Regions from separate parts of the Homo sapiens genome. Here all the other regions are linked to region 3. Evidence: promoter capture Hi-C in 16 types of primary human blood cells and fetal thymus (Javierre and others, 2016). All regions are on one chromosome and are shown on one strand. The core of a region is centred on a gene start or on the middle of the fragment in contact, and the rest is flanking DNA. Distances in the headings are between cores, read along the strand shown.

What was found. Contacts are between HindIII fragments. The CHiCAGO score rates a contact against its expected background, and 5 or more counts as called.
Region 1: a fragment that was not itself captured here is called in contact with the fragment with the promoter of TAF3 in region 3 in 2 of 17 cell types (fetal thymus and M1 macrophages); the score reaches 7.3 in fetal thymus.
Region 2: a contact is called between a fragment that was not itself captured here and the fragment with the promoter of TAF3 in region 3, in 4 of 17 cell types (M0 macrophages, total CD8 T cells, endothelial precursors and 1 more). The highest score is 11.4, in M0 macrophages.

Annotation. Positions count from the first base shown.
Region 1 is chr10:9,296,273-9,300,830 of GRCh38, forward strand. No RefSeq gene overlaps it. Among named protein-coding and RNA genes, the nearest start is that of LINC00709, 23 kb to the left of the region's middle. The HindIII fragment of the contact is 2,003 bases long and covers 2,110-4,112 here.
Region 2 is chr10:9,206,086-9,210,671 of GRCh38, forward strand. The region is part of intron 4 of LOC101928272 (a long non-coding RNA gene); the gene reads right to left. Among named protein-coding and RNA genes, the nearest start is that of LINC00709, 67 kb to the right of the region's middle. The HindIII fragment of the contact is 152 bases long and covers 2,955-3,106 here.
Region 3 is chr10:7,816,386-7,820,783 of GRCh38, forward strand. It overlaps TAF3 (TATA-box binding protein associated factor 3), which reads left to right and starts at 2,120. Exons shown (of 7, transcript NM_031923.4): 1 at 2,120-2,490. The coding sequence starts at 2,325. It overlaps LOC105376392 (a long non-coding RNA gene), which reads right to left and starts at 1,978. Exons shown (of 3, transcript XR_001747356.1): 1 at 1,867-1,978. RefSeq lists enhancers at 1,796-2,314, 2,127-2,186, 2,315-2,832. The HindIII fragment of the contact is 11,971 bases long and covers 1-4,398 here.

The DNA.
Region 1 (4,558 bases), core at 1,861-4,360, 1.5 Mb after region 3:
AGAACCTTTGTTACCATTTTATGTCACCTCATATTTTTCCATATGCAAAACTATTTCTGAAAATTTGGAGCTGGAAGGCACTGTGACGCATGTCACTGGAATGACTTGTGGTGAGGCCAAGCTGCCACTTCATCACGGGCTCCCATCCCAACCCACATTTTCCATTAGGATGTTTCCATCAGGATCAAGTTCCTCTTCAGGGATAAGAGCCGACCATCTTGTCTTCCTGTTCTTCATAAAGGCAGCTTGAGAAAGCCCATAATCAGTGGAGTCATCAGTAGCTGATTGAGTTCCTCCTAAATGTATTGGTAAAAGAAAGATCTGTGGGTCATTTTAGTCATTCACCCTGATACCTCCCTATCACAATGGCTTCTTCTCCCACCTCTCTCTACTCATGTATTTAATATGCATAATATCTGGTACCATTTCAACTTTATTGAAAGGTTTTACGATTATACTCTTGCCCTAAATTTGAAATCAAAATTTTCAATATGTGCAAGAGTACAGAATGAAAGAGCATTTATTGAGATAAATCCAAATGGAAGAAAAAATACATTAATTCAAGTATGCAAATAAACAGGAACATTTTGGGTTTCGGTGATCTAACTAATGTTCTCAATAATTCATTTGAGTATGTAAAGAAGTTTTAAAGGAAAGAAAGGACAAAGTATGGGTATAATTTTCATGAATTCATTTTCATCATTCAAAAGTGATTCTTTCTCTTCTACTCTCCTTGAACCATTATCTAAAGGCTGTCTGCAACCTAAACCTCTAAAAACACCAGTAATTTTAGTGTCAGTATCTACATGTTAAAACTTGTTTTGGTCTAATAATTTGAGATATATTATGGTTCTATTATTTGTAATTTTGGTAGCTTTTTTGTTCTATTAATCTACATATGAAAACATGTTATATGTTTAAGATTTTTATTTTGATATAGATCATTTATTTTATTCAAAACATAATTTAAAATAAAAATACTTTCATATTGCCTTGATCTAACATTCAAGAAGATACATTTGTTATGTTGAATAATAACCAGAAAGGACAAAAGTTTGAAAACAGAAAATGGTGGGAAATAAATCTTACCAAATCAAAAAAGCCCCAGTTTAATTTTATAAAGAATGAAGACATAAGGCAAAGGCAAATAACCACTCTAATTTAAAATTATATTTCAATTAGCACTTTGTAAAGTATCTTAACTTGCTTTGTCTGACTTGGAAATGAGACAAAAGTTTCTGAAAGAGCAGGCTCTGAAAATATTTATGAATAAGAAAATAAAAGAAAAAAGAACAATTGAAAGCCAATAGGTGCTAAAAAATAAAAAAAGAGAAACATTATAAAACACCTTTTCAAAGGTCTTCTAATGTACAATATTTAAATACAAACAGTAACTAGTGTTACACCAGCTGCTCTCAGGTTTGCAAAATATATCAAAGTACAGCATATTGGAATGAGTCCTGAGTTTCCATTTACTTTATCTATCCAGACACATCAATTCTTTTTACTCCAGCCTGATAAAGTGGAACTGCCGCAGACAAATGAGCTAGTGGAGCTGACATAATGTGTTTGTCACAAAGAAGCGCTGGATAAAAAAGCATGACTTTGATCCTCAATGAGGTTACTATTTTACAGTACCCTGAATTTAACTCTAACCTGATGCCTTGAGTCACCGTTCACTGTTTATTGGCCAAAATTGATTCTCATTTCATCTCTAACTGTTAAAGGACTGGCTCCTGCAATCCTTAGATGAGTAAAATCTCCTATCAACCAAAAATAATACTAATAATAATCATGGGAAATTAAAAGCAAAAACTTGATTGATGATCTCTGTGTGACATTATAAAAACTACCCCGAGTTGGGGACTAGAGGTAAGCAAGTAGGTTGACGATCACTTATCACAAACCCAAGGTGTAATGTTATTATTTTAAAGGAAATTTGATTTGTATTTAAGCAATAATACATACCAGATAATTTCTAGATAATTATTTATGTCTGAATTTAAATGTATCTATTGAGCAAATCAGATACATATATATTTATGTGTATGTGTCTATATGTAATTCTATTCTTTCTTTTTATAAAGACTCAAATATTTCTGAAAATAAAGCTTTTGTTTTGAGTTCTGAATAACATGAAACATTTGCCTATTATACCCCTGGGCTCCTTTATCCAAGCAAATTAATTCAATGGTTTTTATTTCATTCATCAAACAAATAAAAAATACCATAGGTAGAATCTGTCACTTGTAAACAGACATAGAAAAGAATAAAACAAGGGGTTCCTAGAGACCAATCCTCCAAGCAGATGAGTAAACATTGCCTTGAACAGTCATAATGGGGGAAAACGATTCTTTCTCTGATACCTGATACTGCAGCCTCACACATTTTTTTTCTTCTTCTATTATTATTATTATTTTTTTTAGTTTGTGGATCATTAGCCCAACAAATGAAGAAGTGAATTGTGATGAATGAAAATTAGTACTGTGAATCCAAATTACTGCATTAAACCCAGGCTGGCCATAAATTACATGTTAACACAATTCGATACAAGTAAGACAGAAAATACTGTCCCTGACAGTGATCTTTAACAATTAAAATATATTTCTTCAACTCAATATTTGGCTGCAATATACTAAAGAAGTTATGATATTCTCATATTGCAAAGTTATATTTAGATTCTACGCAGGGTTAATTATTCCTCACAAATAACGTGCTCACTCATGGTCTCTTAAGTAGATTTTTTGCGGTATATCTTTTGGATTGACTATTATTGATGCACAGCAGTGTTTACAAAATACATCTCCATCCCTTTTCATGATGATTTGAGTTACAGCCATATTTTAAGCCATCCATTAAGCTCTTTTTGTACCCTGCAAATTCATCAGTGGCCTACCTACTGGACACACCTGAGTAAGCAGTAGTAGAGCAGAGATGTAGAGGTGAATGAGATCTATTAGGTAAGCAGAGATCAGAAGGACCAGAGAAGCTATAGTACTAAAGAGAAGTCAGGTTTACTGTACAGAGGAGCCTTCACTGCTTCAAGCCAAGAAAATCTGGTAACATAGAAAATGTCCCTCTGTGCGTACTTTTACCCACAATCAATTGGTGAGATTTGGTCAGCTGATGATTTCCTAAAAGTTCCGTCTGTCCACGTCATCCATGCAGTAGCACAAGATTCATTTTGATCTAATGTCTGAAGCAAGTTCAGATAATAAGATGATGACAAGATCTGAAAGATCAGGCTGGGCGCGGCGGCTCACGCCTGTAATCCCAGCACTTTGGGAGGCCGAGGAGGGCGGATCACCTAAGGTCAGGAGTTCATGACTTTATTAGAGACAGGTGAAACCCTGTCTCTACTAAAAATACAAAAACTAGCCGGGCATGGTGGCAGGTGCCTGTAATCCCAGCTACTCAGGAGGCTGAGGCAGGATAATCGCTTGAGCCCAGGAGGCGGAGGTTGCAGTGAGCCGATATCGTGCCATTGCACTCCAGCCTGGGAGACAAGAGTGAAACTCTGTCTCAAAAACAAAAAAACAAACAAAAAAAATCTGAAAAATCACGTGAAAACTATGCCAAAGAGTTTTGGGAACTTAAAGAAATGCAGAAGTCGGTGTTTGTTGCTGTCCAAGTTCTTTGAGTGTATGTGAGCAAGAGATGCCACTATTTTCCACTGATATTACCTGTATCCAGACTGATGCTAAAGGCTGAGATAAACACAAGCATGCATCCACTGCCTCCATGCAAGTCCTACTCAGTACTAAAGATGGACGCTTGGTAAAAGCCAGATACAAAACATTGCTGCCTTCTGTTAGCCTGGAAGCACATTGACTAAAGATGTTCTGATTGCCCGTGGGGTAGAACAATGAAACAATGAAGCCAGTATGTGCAGAAGCATGTAGGAGGAAGACTTGGGGCCAATGAGGCAACAAACTGCATGCCCAACACATGCTCCAGGGCACTGTGCTAATGCCCAACTTTCCATCTGGTTGAGTGAGTTAGGTCCAGCAAATGAATTCCTTCCAGCTTCTCATGCAGTTCCATCTTTGTCCCCTATTGAGGAGCAAAAACATCCTGTTGGTAAAAGCCACTTTCAGTGGTTCAGTGGGTAAAGCTTCTCCAGGCTGGATTTGGGAGTCTGAAATTGTTGGGAAGACTGAAATGATTGTTCCTAGAAATTTAACCCAACTCTGTCATGCCGGCTATCAAGTAGAGATAATAAAACACCGTCTTAATGAAACTTCTGAGATGAATCTATATTATTTTAATTTTATAACATTTAAGATTGAGGTCAAGAGACAATATGCAATATTCCGCAAGTTACTCAGCTAAGAAGTGGAAGGGCATGTATTTGAACCTAGGTTCTCTTGTACCTACCTAGTTCATCGCTTCTGCCATATTTCCTAGCATTCAGCCAAGAGAAACTACCGGACATAATCTGTGAGGCCAAAAGAGTGTGAACAGCAGAGAGGGCTTGAAACAATGGAGAAATTCATTCATCTTTATGGTGACGCTATTGTTGAGATCAGCAGTAAGCCAAACAACAAATTTCACTTGT
Region 2 (4,586 bases), core at 1,781-4,280, 1.4 Mb after region 3:
ATGTATGTAATGCCTAAATACATAAACATCCTGCAAATAAAAACTGCAACCTCCTGGAATGTGGAGCTACTTTCACTGCTGTTCTAAAAGAACTTTTCTCAAACATTCTCTAAAGTGAATACTTTGCCTTACTGATAACCAGTGCCATTGCAATACAAACCAAGCACAGAACAACAGAGATTGGGCAACCTACAATCTGCATTCAACTTGAAGACCTTTGAGGACGGGGTTCTGTCTGCACTGTCTTCTTCTGTGGGATGGTGGTGGTGTGTGTGAACAAGCGCAAAGTCCATATCCAGTGATACACTTTTAATATTCTATTCCTTAAATGACATATTTAATGCAACTGGCATTTATTGTCATGCATTAACAGGCAAACATATAAGTCGCGGGAAAACGCCATCCCATGCAAAATTTATATATATATACACACACACACACACACACACACACACACACACACACACACACACATATGTATATATATAAAGCATCATTTCCCAAATTGCAACATCAACATATAGCCCTACTCTGAGTTATGTGGTCCTAGAAGTCATGTGTCTTCTCATATATGTGTGTATGTGTGCTTGCCTAAACACACAAATTCAAAGTACTGTTCACTCTCATCATTACATTCTTAGCGAGTGTCAAGATTTAGAAAGAAATTATTGCTTATAGTGCTTCTAAAACATTGATATTTGTTTTCAATATCAAGATCAAATATCAATGTTTTAGAAGCATTAGAAGCAATCAATGTTTTAGAAGCATTAGAAGCAATGATTTCTTGAAATCTGAAATATCCTTTTGTGATCTAAGAAATTTAAAATTAAAAGTTACTTCTCAGGTATAAGGTCAACAGATAACGAGAAAAAATATTTAGGATCTCATTTTCCATTTTCCAAGATTTCAGATTAGGGTATTTCTTCAATCCTTTGAAGTCATAAACCTTTGACTAAATTTTCCCTAGAAAAATTGAAGCTGAAACTTAGGACTCTAAAAAATGAAAAGTTTTTAAATCATACATCAATATATACATTAAAAGGGAGATTGCTGATCCCCAAGGGGAGTGATTTTAGCTTGAATTATCTGTTTGATTTCATATATTAGACAGACTTTCATATATATGTCATATATATGAAATGTCATATGATAGTATTTCATGTGTATATGACAGTATTACAAATTCACCTTACTTTATGTAAACAAAGTTTAGTCCATACAACTTTAGTTTTCAAATAAATAGAAAATTAAAATATGCACCAAATACTTTGTCTCCATTTATATCTGGCTTTGTGATGAAAGTGAAGCAAGTTTTGAAAATTAGTATTTTTACTCAGTCAATTATCTAAGAGCACAAAGTAGATCTGCCTTGGTTGTTTCCAAGTGCTCCTGAATAAGGCCACACTTCTATGCAAGAATCTGCCAGTGTGATGGAAAGACAGAAGCAGTCCCTTCAGGTTCTTATTATTGTTGTTGTTGTTTCTTGAAACGGAGTTTTGCTCTTTCGCCCAGGCTGGAGTGAAGTGGTGCGATCTCAGCTGACTGCAACCTCTGCCCCCGGGTTCAAGTGATTCTCCTGCCTCAGCCTCCCGAGTAACTGAGACGGGGTTTTGCCATGTTGGCCAGGCTGGTCTTGAACTCCTGACCTCAGGCAACCCACCTGCCTCGGCCTCCCAAAATGCTAGGATTACAGGCGTGAGCTACAGTTGTCCAGCCTCCTTCTGGTTCTTAATCAGGAAACCCCAAATATACTTGACTGGTTTGTTGTCCCATAAGGTATGGACTTCTTGTGGGAAGTAAACAAAAAATAAATATTCAAAACCTGGCTTTATCTTGCCTAGTTTGTTTTTACAAATCCAAATATATCCATGTAAGGTATATGCAAAAATATCTCTTGATCTAGTGACAAAATCTGTGCATGCAAAATTAAAAGTGGCTTATATTAACAGAGAGAAAATTTTCCTTTTATATGCCTACTACTCATTGAATAATATATGTTTATTCAGCTAGTGTTTTGTGTTGTGAAGAATAAGAAAACTTAATTTGAAATTTGGTATTTAAAAACATTTTTTCCCGTGCTAGCTAAACTTAAACATACTATAATATGCTTCAAATTTTCATTCTAGTTTTGTTGTTGTTTCAAGTTTTGTTTTGCTATTCTGTGGTATTCTTAACCATTTCATCTTCCATCAGAGGGGTGTGAACATCATTTTCACAAGCAAATGAAAGATATATAAGAGGCCTAGTGCAAACTGTAACTTCCATAGATGTCAGCTAATTGTAAAAGTTAATTATTAAGTTTTGTTTACTAGAAAAGCATGACATGCTGCTTGCCAAAGTTTTTATATGTTAAAATAGTAATAAGGAGTTATAGATAAATGTGTTTCCTGAACTAAGGATAATTAAATTTATCAATTTTTTTTATTTCATATATTTACACAAATTTTCTCCCTCTTTATTTTACCTTAAAAATGTGATCATTTTACCCCACTCATGTTTCCCATCCATATAACTAAGCAAAGTTATTTGGCATTAAATCCTTCCTTCTCTGAACAGAAGTGATTCATTGTTCCAGATAATATCTAACACCTTCATAATTATCATTAATCTTTGAATTAATACAAATTTAGATATTTATATATTTTAACACCACACAAAATTCGTTGTAAAAACCTTTAGCTTCTTTAGTATACCTAAAATAATGTTTTCAAAGGTTTTTTCCTTACTGTAAGTTTAAAACCAATTCACTGTGGAAAACTAAACTGTCATCAGCTAATTGTCTCAACTACAAACATTTATTTGAAGTGTGTATACATGTCAGAATGTGTGTGTGTATAGCTTGTGAGAACAAGTGATTTAGACTATAAAATGCTGAAAAGAGTGAAGGCTATTCTTGCTATATGGTAGAAAGTGAATTCATAACAAGTATATTTTTGAGATGTTGGTCCTGTGCAAGCTTAACATCATTCAGCAGCGGAAAGGAATCTGGTGCCCTATTTGTACTTCCATCTCACCTCCTATTCACTTTCTTTGTAACCTTTTTTCTTCTTATGAACTTGGCATTCTATTGAACATCAGGTTCCCAAAGAGTAATAGCAAATAAGGAAGCTTTATGGGCTGCCTTAGCATCGGGTGCACCAGAAGACGACAGATCCCAAAGGAATGCGAGATGTGTGCTGGAGACTCACCCCAGCGTATTTACACTTTGATGGTCCTGAGAAACTTAGGACCCAAGGGTTGTGGCGCTAAATCTCATCAAAGGTACCATGCACATTTTAGAGACAAAAGCTGGCATTGCCATCCAGTGGCGACATCCGGTATTGCATGTTCAACCAAACCCCGTTTGTTTTGCTTGGACACCGTGTCCTACATAGAAAATAAAATACAATGACTTTGTTTATTTTCTCTTCTATCTTAACAATTCAATGTATGTAATAAGCAAGCAGAAGTAGTTGTTAAAGTATCTTTCATTTTAAGTTAGTTTTACTATTTCCCCTCTAGGTTTGGATGTAGCGTGTGTAGAATGAACAAATGTGTAGGCAAAATAAAAATTTACTAATATTTTTGAACGAAGATTTAAAGTACTTAAAATGGACTCCAAATGAGCAACTCTTTATAAGATCAGGGAATTTCTAGTGATTAAAAATCGCAATGGTTCGGCCCATTTATTTTAATAGCATTACTATTAACTCAAAGATGTATTGATATGGACTCACACCAAGGTTGTGATTATACCAACCTAAGCTCTCCAACTTAGAGTACCTGGTGCAGTTCACATGTGTGTGTTTAATAAACGCATGAACTAAGAAAGAAGAACATGGAGAGATTTTTCCTGTTGTCAGTTTGATGTTGAAGGGCACATTGTTTTTCTATTATGTTGCTGATTTCTGTATTTATTCCACATATATCAGAAACATTTCTCCCACCTTCTGGGTAAATTGCAATGGAGGTCTCACCCAGAACATTTAGGTTTGAATTGGTTAACAATTCAAGCAGCCCTACCTTTTCAGCACTTTTTATTTTTTAAAAAAAATAGCATTTTGTTTTTCCTTCAAACCTCACATCTTCCAAGCCCTTCAAAGAGCTGTACTGATGAATGCATGTTTCTAATAGACTTCAAGAGGGTTATCCTGGACGCCTGGTATAAGTTCAGGGGTCCCCTCCCCCTTTATTTACCTGTTATGTGTCATTAGCTCCTGCTTTTTTTTAATGTTACAAACTCTGTGTACTTTTTGTAGGCATTGGTTTTCAATGCTGCGTTGCCATTTGGTTTTCATTCATAGGAGAAGTTTAAAAGGAGAAATGAGATCTTACATGAAAGATTGTGCTCAGCACTTTTTATTTGGCAGGGGAAAATATGAGTGGAGTTATTTCACCTAAGACATAGAATTATTTTGTTACGTGAAAGACATTATTTATATTTTCTTATGTTAATACAAATATATAACGCATTCAAGGTAATCCACAAAGCTAAAATGAAAATCCAGTTATCTGAGATTTGTTTCCTTGGCATACGTACTAACCAGTCTATAGGGGGCCTTTGGCACATAAATGTTCATTTACTTTGAGCTTAGTGGCATCAGCCA
Region 3 (4,398 bases), core at 870-3,369:
CAAACCAAGAAGTGTCTCTGAGGGTAAAATAGATGAACTGTGATGAATGCTCTAATCCACTGCTCAGAGCCCCCTCAGGACTGAAGGACTTCAGCTGTCCTTGGAATTGAATGGACTCAGCTGCAGTGTTCCTTTGCCTGAGAGCACACACCCTTTCCCAGGTAGCCCTCATGCAGTGACCTGTTCCTATGGGAATATAAAGGTCCAGTCTTCTTGTTTGGATTCAGGGAAGCTCTGAAGGGCCACTCCAGCTTCTGCACACTATGGCATTGGCTTGGCTGAGGCTTTCTTGCCAAGGAATTCACTGCACCCTGGCTTTCACTCCTTCCCCCAAGTCCCAGGAGGATCCCTCAATGAACTTTCTGCAGGCTCATCTCTATTTCAGAGTTGACTTCCTGGGGAACCAAGCCTGTGACATATGGTCTTGTGTATAGTTATGTGGGGGAATGTTCTTGTTTTGGGGTGATACATGTCGAGGTGTGGTGGGGTTAAGTGTCATGAAGTTTGCAGCTTATTTTCAAACTGCTGGAAAAAAAATACCTGCGTGCATATATAAATACAAAATATATAGTAAATTGGCAAAATGTTAACAATTGGTGAATCTAGTTGAAGTGTACACGTGAGTCTATGATTTTGTTTCAACTTTTCTGTAGGTTTGAAATTTTCCGAAATAAAATCCCCTCCCCTATACACAGAAAGGCAAATGAAGAGGAACAAACACCCAGGGTGGCGGCGGTAGCGGGACAGATTTGTGAAATCCAAGGCGCAAGAGAGTTTCAATGTTACAGAAGCGTTCAACATTATCAAATAGCTACAAAATAATCAAGTACGGCTAGGACTGAAAAATGTCTCATAGATTTAGCAACACAATGTTCCTGATAACTTGGGGACAGAGTGTCCAGGGAGTAAATGCAGGCACCTTGCCCTTTAGTACCTTGCTTCTCTGCAGATCGTCATTTAGCTGAAGAACCATAATTTCAGTTCTATTATTGAGTTTCCCAGACTTTGAAAAATGTGAATATCATGTTCAAAGTTCTGGAATAGTCCCTGTCGGAGGAATATAGAGCCACTCATAAACTCGCAATTTATTGGAGGAGCACATAAACTAAATACACTGTGATAAGTACAGAAGGGCATATTTAAGAAACCGCATAGTTCAGCCACTACAATCGGGCGACCTGCAGGCTGAATCTAGACTAACCGTGGGATCAGTTTGGCTTTTGAGATGTGTTCCCAATTCTGTATTTAAAAATCAAGATATTTATCCCTAAATCCGATTTCTGGCAATACTTGGATGGAGCTGGGAGAAGGCTCTGGGGTAGGCAACCGTTCCCAGGACACTCGGCCTGCGACACCGGTTTAAGGCTCGGTTTGGCCTCTGTAGGCAGCCGAGGTCCCCATCCCCCGATAGGTCACAGCCGCGATGCTCAAATCGCACACTATAGCCCACAGGCAGCTTACCTGTTTTTTTTAAAAAAAAAAAAAAAAAAAAAGTTTTATTGGAACCAGGGCTGGGATTAGAATGACATGAGTGAGTCAGGAGTTTATGGCATGGATTTGGATTTTTTTAAAAAAACTGTTAAAATATTATCGATCTTGATGACTGAGTTTTTTGAGGCCCCCATTAATTTGGCACAGAGTCCTCCTAGTTCCTGCCCTATTGCGAAGGGCTTTGAAGGGCATGCGGAACAGCTTGGACTTTATTTAATCTTTGCAGTGGCAAGCAGCTCAATACACAGATTTTTAGCTGAGGCAACACCAGCGCAGGTCTGCGTTTGGCGAGCTCCGTAAGTTCCCACGCCCCAAACTTCTCTCTAGCACATAACTCTCTAATATGACTAACGTTATTAGTGCTAACTCTCTAACCTGTCAATGTCGTATCCCAGATCCCTCGTTTGCCTCTAAAACACTGGCGTTTTCGTCACCGCTGTCCCCCAGGTGAGCGCCCCAGCACCTGCCGCCCTGGGCGCCTCCTCCACCTGCGCGCCCCACGCCCGCTTCCGGCCGGCTTCCAGGCCTCAGAGGCGATCCCGAGGAATCGTTCCGCTCCCAAGGGGCGGAGCTTTCTCATCGCCGCGCTCGGCATTCGGCTTATGCTGCCTCGCCCCGGCGGCCGTCCAGCGGGAGGCGGAGCGAGTCCAAAATGGCGGCTCTCAGGCTGGCGCGCTCCGTGCTGCTGGGGCTTTGAGGTGGTCGCCGGGGGTCCGGGGGACCCTTTCCCCGCCGCGGAAGCCCTAGAGGATGAATCGGGGACCCTGCTAAGGTCTGGCGGCGGGGCTGGAGAGCAGTGGCAGCAAGGGCTGCGGTGGCGTCCACGCAGCGGGATGTGCGAGAGTTACTCCAGGTCGTTGTTGAGGGTCTCGGTGGCGCAGATCTGCCAGGCGCTGGGCTGGGACTCGGTGCAGCTCAGCGCCTGCCACCTCCTCACGGACGTGCTGCAGCGCTATCTGCAGCAGCTGGGCCGGGGCTGCCATCGGTACTCTGAGCTCTGTGAGTACCGGGCTGGGTGCGGGAGGGCTGCCCCGGCAAGTCAAGGGTGACACCTTCGCTCTCCCTGTCCCTCCGCGTCCCCGGGGTGTGCATCCCGCACCCCGCCTCGAGATCTGCTGTTTCCTCGGCCTCCCACGTCCCTGGGCTTCCACTGCCGCTCCAAACTCTAGTCATCCTTCGGGTGCCTCTTCCTTATCCGCTAACTTCCCGCCACCAGCCCGGGAGTCGGGTCTTCGCTCCCAGCTCCACACCCTCCTACCGCTCCTCCGCTCTGAATTGTGTCTGGATCTCTCTCATTGTCTCCTGTTTGCTGCGGGTAGATCCACCCCCAGCGTGCCCTACACCCTCTTTTACCTCGGTCCTTTTTCTCCCTTGCCCGCAAACTACTACAACTAGTTGTCACAGGCGCTCCGTCTACCGGCCGTTTCTTACAAGACTGGCCATTCCTGGGCTCCTAACTACATAGACTCGTTGACAGCTCTGCTCCGTTAGGGACACTGCCTCGTCTTTCTGTATCTGTTCGTTTCGTGAACGACATCTCCATTTACTGTTTTTCCAAGGCTGACTTTGTCAGTTTCGCTGATTAGATGTACTTTCACTTACGTCTCGGTTACCAGTGAGATGTCAGTGGCTATCGAAGTAGGATAGAGGGACCGTGGGCAGTTGACAAGATTCTCCAGGTAATCTGGGCTACAGTACTTATGAGTTTTAAATGAATGTCTGGTAATATCTATAGCTAGTGGTATTTAATAATTTAATGGAAGGAATGGAATATTTTAATAGAAGCTCCACATTATCTTGTTGATGTGAAGCATTGTATGTGTGTTTGTTGAGGAGAGGAAACTACCACTCATTTTAGTTTCAAGTCATGATGTTTAAGGTGGTGAGCTGGAGAACTGAATGAAGTGTTTCATAGGATATTTTGTTTTGTTAAAGTGGTTCCTATACTGGAAAATTGAGACTCACAGACACACGCTGTATTTCTTAGGCCCCAAGTTTCGTTCCCGCTTCCACAGGGCTGCCAAAATAATCTGTCCATAGCACAGATCTGATCCTGTCATTATTCTTAAAAACATTTTAACTATACTTCGTTGGTTACAGGCTAAAAATCGAAACTCTTAGCAGTACACAGTTCCCTTTGTGAGCTAGCATTTTGCTTACCTTTTGCCAGCCTGCCATGCTAATCTGCGACCACGCTGAGCTACCTGCCTTTTCCAAAATGTTTTAAGCTGTCCATTCCTACATGCGTGCTGTTTCTTACCTAGAGTGTCCTTTGCCCGTGGCCCACCAATAGTATTACTTTTATTTTCAGATGCACTTATCACTTGCTCTAGGGAACTCATGTTATCTGCTTTCATAATTCTGTGCATATTTCTTTTATATTATTTGTCATCTTGTTTTGTAATCACCTGTGTATGTCTCTTTCCCCTCTCCAGGAGAAAAATTGATTATATTTGTATTCTGTAACCTGTAGGGCCATTATATAATAGGCACCTGAGAAATATTTGTTGAATAAATGAATGAACTGATAAACCACTACCCTAAAAGCCACTTATTGACTTTACATATTGAGTTCCAAAAATGTATATGTTTTGAATGCTTGATTTCACTGATACTTCTATTACTCTTCTTCTTTTGAGACAGGGTCTCACTCTGTCGCCGAGCGTGGAGTGCAGTGGTGCGATCTTAGCTCTCTATAGCCTCGAACTTCAGGGCTCAAGTGATCCTCCCGCCTCAGCCTTCCAAGTAGCTGGGACTACAGGGATACGCCACCATGCCTGGCTAATCTTTTTATTTTTTGTAGAGATGTGGTCTGGTTATATTGCTCAGGCTTGTGTCAAACTCCTGGGCTCAAGTGATCCTCCTGCCTCAGCATTTCAAAGTGCTGGGATTACAGGCATGAGCCAC